Regions from separate parts of the Homo sapiens genome. Here region 2 is linked to region 1. The links are contacts of gene promoters, found by promoter capture Hi-C in human tissues and cell types (Jung and others, 2019). All regions are on one chromosome and are shown on one strand. The core of a region is centred on a gene start or on the middle of the fragment in contact, and the rest is flanking DNA. Distances in the headings are between cores, read along the strand shown. Region 1 holds the start of RPL29 (ribosomal protein L29). Region 2 overlaps RAD54L2 (RAD54 like 2).

Evidence for each region. The method cuts DNA at HindIII sites, captures the fragments that hold promoters and counts their contacts. A contact is called where the count stands out against the background at its distance.
Region 2: a contact is called between a fragment that was not itself captured here and the fragment with the promoter of RPL29 in region 1, in 1 of the 25 tissues and cell types used here (thymus).

What each region holds. Positions count from the first base shown.
Region 1 is chr3:51,994,598-51,999,254 of GRCh38, forward strand. It overlaps RPL29 (ribosomal protein L29), which reads right to left and starts at 1,298. Exons shown (of 4, transcript NM_000992.3): 1 at 1,260-1,298; 2 at 828-872; 3 at 445-509. The coding sequence starts at 864. RefSeq lists an enhancer at 1,243-1,402. The HindIII fragment of the contact is 10,138 bases long and covers 1-4,657 here.
Region 2 is chr3:51,591,981-51,596,432 of GRCh38, forward strand. The region is part of intron 3 of RAD54L2 (RAD54 like 2); the gene reads left to right. Among named protein-coding and RNA genes, the nearest start is that of RAD54L2, 55 kb to the left of the region's middle. RefSeq lists a silencer at 1,491-1,694. The HindIII fragment of the contact is 4,263 bases long and covers 1-4,234 here.

The DNA of each region.
Region 1 (4,657 bases), core at 48-2,547:
CTGGGGACATGCTCAGCTCTCCCCTAGACCCTCCAGCCTTCTCAGCTAATCCTTAGAACCCCCTGACACAGGAAGAGAAGCTGACCCCAACTCCAGCACTGGGTCAGATGGAGGTCATAAGGCTGGTCAGTGTGGGAATGTGCCCTGCACGCACTCAGACAAGGCCACTCCTTACCCTAAGTGCCACTGCCAAGCAAGGGAGATAGCCAAACTGCCCTCAGGAGGCAGGTTACACCCTGACCAGAGGGTTACACTTCAGGCTGTGGAGACCAAGGAAAGCTTTATTATGGGTCTGGTAGGGTAGAAAAAGGAATTGCAGGCTTTGGGTGGGCCAGTTAGGCTGTGCTCAGGCAGAAGCCAAAGCTAGAGAAAAACTACATGAGAGGCCTTGACTGTGCACCTGGAACCAAGAAAAGACACTTCCATGTGATTCAGTGCACTCACCCCCTTAAGAGATTCGTATCTTTGTGATCGGGGTTTCTTGATACCATTTCTGTGCCATTTTCGGGCTGTGGGAGAAAAAAAGGGAATTAAGCCAACAAAGAACTTTCCTCTAATAAGACCACCCAACATCACAGCTGGCAAGTCTGGGAGAACCAACACTTCCTACAGCAGCTACACTTGAGATATGGGAAACCCTTACTACTAAATGCAAAACACTCTGTATCTCAAGTAGATCTCTAAACCTATAAACCCTAAAGTTATTACTGGGTGAAATCAATCAGCCTCAGGCCCACAATGGAAACGTGCCCCTTCATCTCTGTCCCAGTTTGCCTGAACCAGTCCTTGCCAGGGTCTGGGATGTAGGCAGGGCCCAAAAAACTTACACTGGTTGTGTGTGGTGTGGTTCTTGGACTTGGCCATGTCTGCACCTGGAAGACAAAAGTGGAGATCAGGGTTAAGGGCTCGCCAGGCTGGGCCACCTCTGCCCCCCCCATTCTGGTCAGAATGAGCCTGCAGGCAGAGAATGTGCAGCCTCCACGAGTCTCGGCTTACTCTGCACGACCAAACGCCAGTCCTGGCCTCCCAAACCCAGGTAATGATGCCCTGAAATCAACTCCTTACCCCCGGAAAGCTGCATTCCCCAATAAAGTGGCTTTCCCTGCCATCCCCCTCCTAGGACCTAGAAGCACCATTCCCACCCCGCAGCTTTTGCTCCCGACAGACACACGGTCGGTCACCAGTCCTCTCCGCAGCCCGCGCCCCGCCGCCACCCGTAAGTCGCGGATGGCATCGGATGCCGCGCGGCCAACACTCACCATAAGCCGCGGCTCCCGAAGCGCCTAGAACCGGAAGAGAAAGGGGCTGCGGTGCAGCACGGGAAATAGGGTCAACAACGCCGGAAAGTACTACTGGAAAAGCTTCCCCAGGCTCCGCGAAGAAAAGTTCCGAAGCCCGGAAGAACGCAAGCCAGACGTGGAGGCGGTGCTACGAGCTTGCCTCCGCCCCCTTCAGGCTGCCTCCTCCCTTCTCTGTTTCTCCAGGACCTGTCTCTTAAGTCTTATTCAAGATACTGAAAAAGAAAGGAGTCCTTGAGGGATGTTGTTGGGCAAGAAGATCTGTGTTCTTTTTCTTTTTTTTTTTTTTTGAGACGGAGTTTCGCTCTTCCACCGAGGCTGGAGGGCAGTGGCACAATCTCGGCCCACTGCAACCTCCGCCTTCCGGTTTCAAGCGATTCTCTTGCCTCAGCCTCCCGAGTAGCTGGGATTACAGGCGCCCACCACCACGCCCGGCTAATTTTTACATTTTTAGTAGAGACGGGGTTTCACCATGTTGGCCAGGCTGGTCTCGAACTCCTGACCTCGCGATCCGCTCGCCTCTGTCCCCCAAAGTGCTGGGATTACAGGCGTGAGCCACCGCACCTGGCCGATCTGTGTTCTTAAAAGCACCCCTGTAATCCCAGCACTTTGGGAGGCTGAGGTGGGCGGATCACGAGGTCAGGAGTTCCAGACCAGCCTGGACAACATGGTGAAACCCCATCTCTACTAAAAATCCAAAAAAAAAAAAAAAAAAAAAAAAAAAATTCACGGGGCGTGGTGGCACGTGCCTGTAATCCCAGCTACTCTGGAGGCTGAGGCAGGAGAATTGCTTGAATCTGGGAGGTGGAGGTTGCAGTGAGCCAAGATCGCACCATTGCACTCCAGCCTGGGCTACAGGGCGAGACTCTGTCTCAAAAAAAAAAAAGAAAAGCACGCCTGACTCTTTCGTGGAGAAGGAGCAGAGGGGAGGAAGGAGAGAGGGCTGCCTGGACCTGAGGGAGGACAGTGGGAATGCAGAGGAGTGGACAAAGAAAGAGTACTGGACTTGGGACACAGAAGATGAGGGAGAAAAAGGAGGCAAGGATAGCCCCTATGTCTTTGGCTTGACAACTGGGTGAATGGTGGGCTGTTTACAGAGATGGAAGATTGAGTGGGGAGCAGGGGCTTTGTTTGTTTTGTTTTGAGGGGGAATGATGAGCCAGATATTTTTGTTGGATGCATTAAATGTGAGATGCCTGTTGGACATCAGAATTGAGAAATTGTTGCCTCTAACAACTCTGTTGCCTTCTCCACCTCTTCCCCCTATAGTTCATTTTCCACACGGCAGTGGGGCTTGGGGACTTGTTTTAAGATACAAATCAGATCCTGTCCCTTAAATCTGCAAGGACATCCCCTTGCATTGAAGATCAATTCTTTACCCACTTGACCCTGACAACCTCTGTCATTTACTTCTCTCCAAACGCATTGCCTTTCTTTCCTGCCAACCACAAATGTGTGTTCTGCCTCAGGACCTTTGCACTTGCTATCCCAGCCACCTGGACTGCCCTTCTCCCTGCTTTTTGGATGGTGTGCTCTTTCCTATAGAGGCCTCCCTGGACTCCATTATCTAAAATAGAGAACCACTGCCTCATCTCACCAGTGATTCTGTGTCCTCTCATGGTTTCCTTTCTTTTCTATTCTTTTTTTTTTTTTCTTTTTTTTAGACAGTCTCACTCTGTCTCCCAGGCTGGAGTGCAGTGGTGCGATCTCAGCTCACTGCAACCTCTGCCTCCCGGGTTCAAGCGATTCTCCTGCCTCAGCCTCCTGAGTAGCTGGGATTACGGGCGCACACCACCACTCCCAGCTAATTTTTAAAGAATTATTTTTAGTAGAGACGGGTTTTCACCATGTTGGCCAGGCTGGTGTTGAACTCCTGACCTCAGGTGGTCTGCCCGCCTCGGCCTCCCAAAGTGCTGGGATTACAGGCGTAAGCCACCGTGCCCGGCCATGGTTTGCTTTCTTTATAGAACTTTCCCAGACTCTAATTGCATTGTTTACTTAGTTGTGTATGTGTCCATTATCATAGGAGCCCAGAGTTTGGGACTGGTTTGATCACCTTCATTTTCCCACTGCCTAACTCAGCATAATGTAGATAGAGCAAGAGCTTAATAAACACATGCCCAGTGAACGTTCCTTGACAAGCCAGGTTCGTGGAGTGACAGACGCATACTGCAGAGGTTTAGGGAGTGAAGCGGAAAGGAGGTTGTGGAGGCAGGACATGTGGATGACTCATTACCAAAGCATTCCTGAGAAAGGGGAGAGAATTCTGACAGGTGTGAGTTGGGAGAATGAAAAGCAGGCTTATATACTGATGGATGATCTGGTGCCAAGAAAGAAACAGCTGAGCCCAGAGGAGAGTGTCTCTGCAGGAATAAAGTCCCTGTGGGGTGCTGAGCACAGGTAGAGAACCTGGTGGGCAAAGACAGGGGCTACAGGAGGTGGGGGTGGTGTGATGCCTGACAGCAAGTCAGGACTTCAGCTCAGGAAGTTGAAGAGGTGGCTGTGGAGACTGGGACAGGGAGGAGGAGGTCTGACTGCCACATCCTTGAGAAAGAGAAGCCAGCAGGGTAGAGGCTGACAGCGGGGGCAGTGATGACTTTATTTATTTACTTTTATTTATTTTATTTATTTATTTATTTATTTTGAGACAGAGTTTTGCTCTCATTGCCCAGGCTGGAGTGCAATGGCGCGATGTTGGCTCACTGCAACCTCCACCTCCTGGGTTCAAACGATTCTATTGCCTCAGCCTCCCGAGTAGCTGGGATTACAGGCACCTGCCACCATGCCCAGCTAATTTTTGTGTTTTTAGTAGAGACGGGGTTCTACCATGTTGGCAATGCTGGTCTCGAACTCCTGACCTCAGGTGATCCACACTCCTTGGCCTCCCAAAGTGCTGGGATTACAGGCGTGAGCCTGTAATCCATGTCCAGCCTGTGATGACTTTAAAAGAACCAGGCTGCCCTGCTATGTGGCCTTCCAGCTGGGTAGCGACTCCCGCAGCTCCTAAAAAGTGAGTAGTGACTTGGTTTAGCTAGACTGTTACGACAGAGGCAGAAAAAGCAGTGAGCAGAAAGCCACGGTCTGACGGGGGAGGCAGATTCAGAGATGGACGATGGTCATGCAGTACCACTGGGGCTGTGTTAGGGATTGGCCCAGAGTTAAATCCCAGCTGTTAGGCAAGGGGGAGTCAGTGACAAGAATGAGGAACTTTGGCTGTGACCTGAGGGGACCTGTCCAGGAGCCAAAGGGGACCATGACCTGGAGCCACTGACCTGTCATGCTTTTCTTTTCTTTTTCTTTTTTTTTGAGACAGAGTTTTGCTGTTGTTGCCCAGGCTGGAGTGCAATGACACGATCTCA
Region 2 (4,452 bases), core at 853-3,352, 400 kb before region 1:
ATTTATTTAGAAATGACAAGAATTTAATTGTGATTTGTCTCAGAATAATGTAGCTGTGCAATTTGGTTTTGGTGTTTTTTTTTTTTTTTTTTTTTTTTTTTTTGAGATGGAGTTTTGCTCGTTGCCCAGGCTGGAGTGGAATGGCGCCATCTTGGCTCACTGCAACCTTCACCTCCTGGTTCAAGCGATTCTCCTGCCTCAGCCTCCTGAGTAGCTGGGATTACATGTGCCTGCCACCATGCCTGGCTAATTTTGTATTTTTAGTAGAGACGGGATTTCTCTATGTTGGTTAGGCTGTTCTCGAACTCCTAACCTCAGGTGATCTGCCCGCCTTGGCCTCCCAAAGTGCTGGGGATTACAGGGGTGAGCCACCATGCCCGGCCTTAAATACTTTTTTAAAATTTTAAAATGACTCATTTTTATTGAAGTTCAGAGTGATAAACAAACGTTCCATTAGGCCCTATGTCCTGCTGTGCTCTGCTAGGTTAACTGACTTCTTGGAATTTGACTCAAGGACCATTTTTATATTTCACTACAGTGTTAGAGCCACAAAAATAAAAGTAATACTTCTGTTACTTCTGGTGTTTTTGACCCTATTTTACCTCTTAAAGCTTTTTTTTTTTTCTTTTGTTGGCCCTGGCTGGAGTGCAATGGCGCGATCTCGGCTCACTGCAACCTCCGCCTCCCAGGTTCTAGCAATTCTCCTGCCTCAGCCTCCTGAGTAGCTGAGATTACAGGTGCCTGCCACCATGCCCAGCTAATTTTTGTATTTTTAGTAGAGACAGGGTTTCACCATTTTGGCCAGGCTGGTCTTGAACTCCTGACCTCAGGTGATTCACCTGCCTCGGCTTCCCAAAGTGCTGGGATTACAGGCGTGATCCACACCCGGCCTAAAGCTTTTCTTTTCCTCTCATGTTGAGCACTCTATGCAGTTTTCCTGAAAAATCCAAAACCTGCCTATTTCTTTAGTCTTGTCCTTGCTGCCATCCCGTAGTCATGGGCAGAGCAGCTAGCTATTCTACTAGTAAGAATAGCTATGAATAATCTAGTTTTAGTTGGTGTAGTGTGATGTGGCCCTTTTGTTTTCTTAGAGCAGTGGTTCTCAACCTGGTATGATTTTGCTTCTTAGGGAACAGTTTACAATGTGTGAAGACACTGGTTGTCAGGATTGTTGGGGGTGGGGTGGGGATGCTACTGTCATCTTGTGGATAGAGGCTGAGGATGCTATTAAACATCCTACAATGCATAGGAGAGCCCCTAGCTCACCCCAACAATTATCTGTCCCAAATGTCAATAGTACTGAGATCTGAGAAACCATTTCACAAAAGAAACTTACTTCAGCCCCTTTTTTTTTTTTTTTATGTTTTTTTGAGATGGAGTCTTGCTCTGTCGCCCAGGCTGGAGTGCAGTGGCGCGATCTCGGCTCACTGCAACCTCTTCCTCCCAGGTTTACGCCATTCTCCTGCCTCAGCCTCCTGAGTAGCTGGGACTACAGGCGCCCACCACCATGCGTGGCTAATTTTTTGTATTATTAGTAGAGACGGGGTCTCACCGTGTTAGCCAGAATGGTCTTGATCTCCTGACGTCGTGATCCGTCCGTCTCGGCCTCCCAAAGTGCTGGCATTACAGGCGTGAGCCACTGTGCCCGGCCACTTCAGCCCTTTTTATTTGAAGTTTCATCTCTACTGGATAACCACAGCTTACTTTTATATTGTTTGTCATAGTTTACACAAGCATGTGAACAATCTTATTCTTTTCAAAAAACTGTCTTTTGGGTTTGGTGTATTGTGTTTGTTTTCTTTGTAATTTCTACTTTCTAATTTTCTGTTTCTTTTGGGTTTATTTTGCCTTTCTTTTAGACTTCTTAGGAATGCGCGTAGCTTATTAATTTTCAGATGTTTTTCTACGTAAATATTTAAAGCTTTCTTTCAAACTTCTTAAGAATGTGCGTAGCTCATTAATTTTTAGATTTTTTTTCTATATAAGCATTTAAAGGTATAATTTTCCCTGTAAGCTTTAGCTCCATCCCCCCATAAGCATTTTGACACACTTTATCATACTTAATTGTCTTTCTTTTTTCTTTTTCTTTTTTTTTTTTTTTTTTTTTTGAGATGGAGTCTTGCTCTTTTGCCCAGGCTGGAGTGCAGTGGCATGATCTCAGCTCACTGCAACCTCCACCTCCTGAGTTCAAGCAGTTCTCCCACCTCAGCCTCCCGAGTAGTAGCTGGAATTACAGGCATGCACCACTATGCCTGGCTAAGTTTTTGTATTTAGTAGAGACAGAGTTTCACCATGTTGGCCAGGCTGGTCTCAAACTCCTGACTTCAGGTGATCCTCCTGCCTTGGCCTCCCAAAGTGCTGGGATTACAGGCATGAACCACTGTGCCCGGCCCATACTTAATTGTCTGGATAATCTTGTATGTTAGGTAGGGTAGATACATTTTACAGATGGGGAAACTGGGGCTCAGAAAGGTGAGTGGCTTACTCAGTATAACTTAGCAAGAAATTGGCAAAGCTGGACTTTTGGTCTTCAAGGCATTGCTCCTTTTTCAAACCAATGCTGCTTCTGAGACCATAGATTCTTATAATCGCCTTTCCTGTGATGTGTTTGCTTTCTTTCCTAGTTTCTGCTTTGAGGGAAGAAGGTGATTGTTAATTATTGTTGAGCAGAGGTGGAAGGACAGTTAGAAGTAACAGGAGGTATAAGGCAAAGTAGAAGGGAAAGTATGGCAAATGCTAAGGAATGATGAGCCGTCTTATTTGTTAATGCACTGGACACAAGAGGGGTAATCACCAGAGTGAGACTGGAGAGATGACCTATGGTTAGATCATGGAGTAGTTTAGAATTTGTTTTATAGGCAACATGGAATTGATGGGCGCTTTTTTTTTTTTTTTTTTTTTTTTTTTTTTTGACGGAGTCTCGCTCTGTCATCCAGGCTGGTGGCACAATCTTGGCTCACTGCAACCTTCACCTCCCAGGTTCAAGCGATTCTCCTGCCTCAGCCTCCTGAGTAGCTGGGACTACAGGCACGCGCCACCACATCCTGCTGATTTTTTGTATTTTCAGTAGAGACAGAGTTTTACCATGTTGGCCAGGCTGGTCTCAAACACATGAACTCAATTAATCCACACGCCTCAGCCTCCCAAAGTGCTGGGCTTACAGACATGAGCCACCGTGCCTGGCCGATGGGCCCTTTTACTGAGGAGCATCCATCAGACCTTTGACTTCAGGAATGGTACTCTAGCACTGTATCAAAGACATGGCCTGTAGACAGGGAGGATCAGTTAGGTCTGTAGTAGAACTCTATGGGAAAGGGTAATGAGGATTAGAACTGTTTGTGTCAGTCGATCACACAAGAGGAGTAAATGGTCAGACTTGTTGCACTGGATTTTATAGGACTTGGTGACTTACTGGATTTGTAGGGCAGATTGAAGAGGGATGGGTAAAAGCCCAGGAAGATCATGAGATCTTTTACAAAGGTGGGATGAACAGGATAGGGAGTGGATGGGGGAGTGAAAGATATTTTTGGCTTTGGTACAATAAGTCAGGCCATTGTTTCCTCCTTGATACTGACCTTTGTATGTTGAGTAGTGGGATAGTAGTGCAAGAACTGGTTATTATAGAACACGGAGGTTTGGCTGTTGGAGAACAGCACCATGACTTTGTCTTCAAACCAACCTTCAAGTGAGGAGAAGGTAGTGTTTTTTGTTTATAACATGTTAAAGGACCCATGACATGTTGTGAGACATTTTGGATTTGGTTTTTCATCCCCCTCTTTTTCTTTTCTCCTGATATCTGTCCTTAGCTTTCTCTGTTCTTTCAGAATGGTAGGGAAAGTTGGGTGTTAACACGTTTAGGGTCTGTTGTTATTAAAGGTAGGGGTTCAAAATGTGATACCTCTGGGATTGGCTTTCCTTATATAATAGTTTTTCTTTCTTTCATTCATTCAGTCTTCTTTTTTTTTTTTTTGAGACAGGGTCTCACCCAGGATCACCCAGGCTGGAGTGCAGTGGCGTGATCACGACTCACTGCAGCACCCCAGGGTCAGGTGGTCCTCCCACCTTAGCCTCCCAGGTAGCTGAGACTACAGGTGTGCGTCACCATGCCCAGCTAATTTTTGTATTTTTAGTAGAGACGGGTTTCACCATGTTGGCTGGGCTGGTCTCAAACTCCTGACCTCAAGTGATCCACCCACCTCGGCCTCCCAAAGTGCTGGAATTACAGGCGTGAGCCACCGCTCCCGGCCTTACTTCACTCTTTAAGCCTGCAGTAGACTCTTACTTAATGGTTGATGGCTCTGTCAACTGTCCGTGATAGGGAGCCCAGACCAAGAGAGATGTCCAAGGGTCTTTCAGTCTGTACAAATGGCAAAAATCCTAATATTATTTCTCCAAAGTAGTTTCTTGTCCTCCTGCAGCAGAGAAACATGGGAGAAAAATAACAAGAAGAAA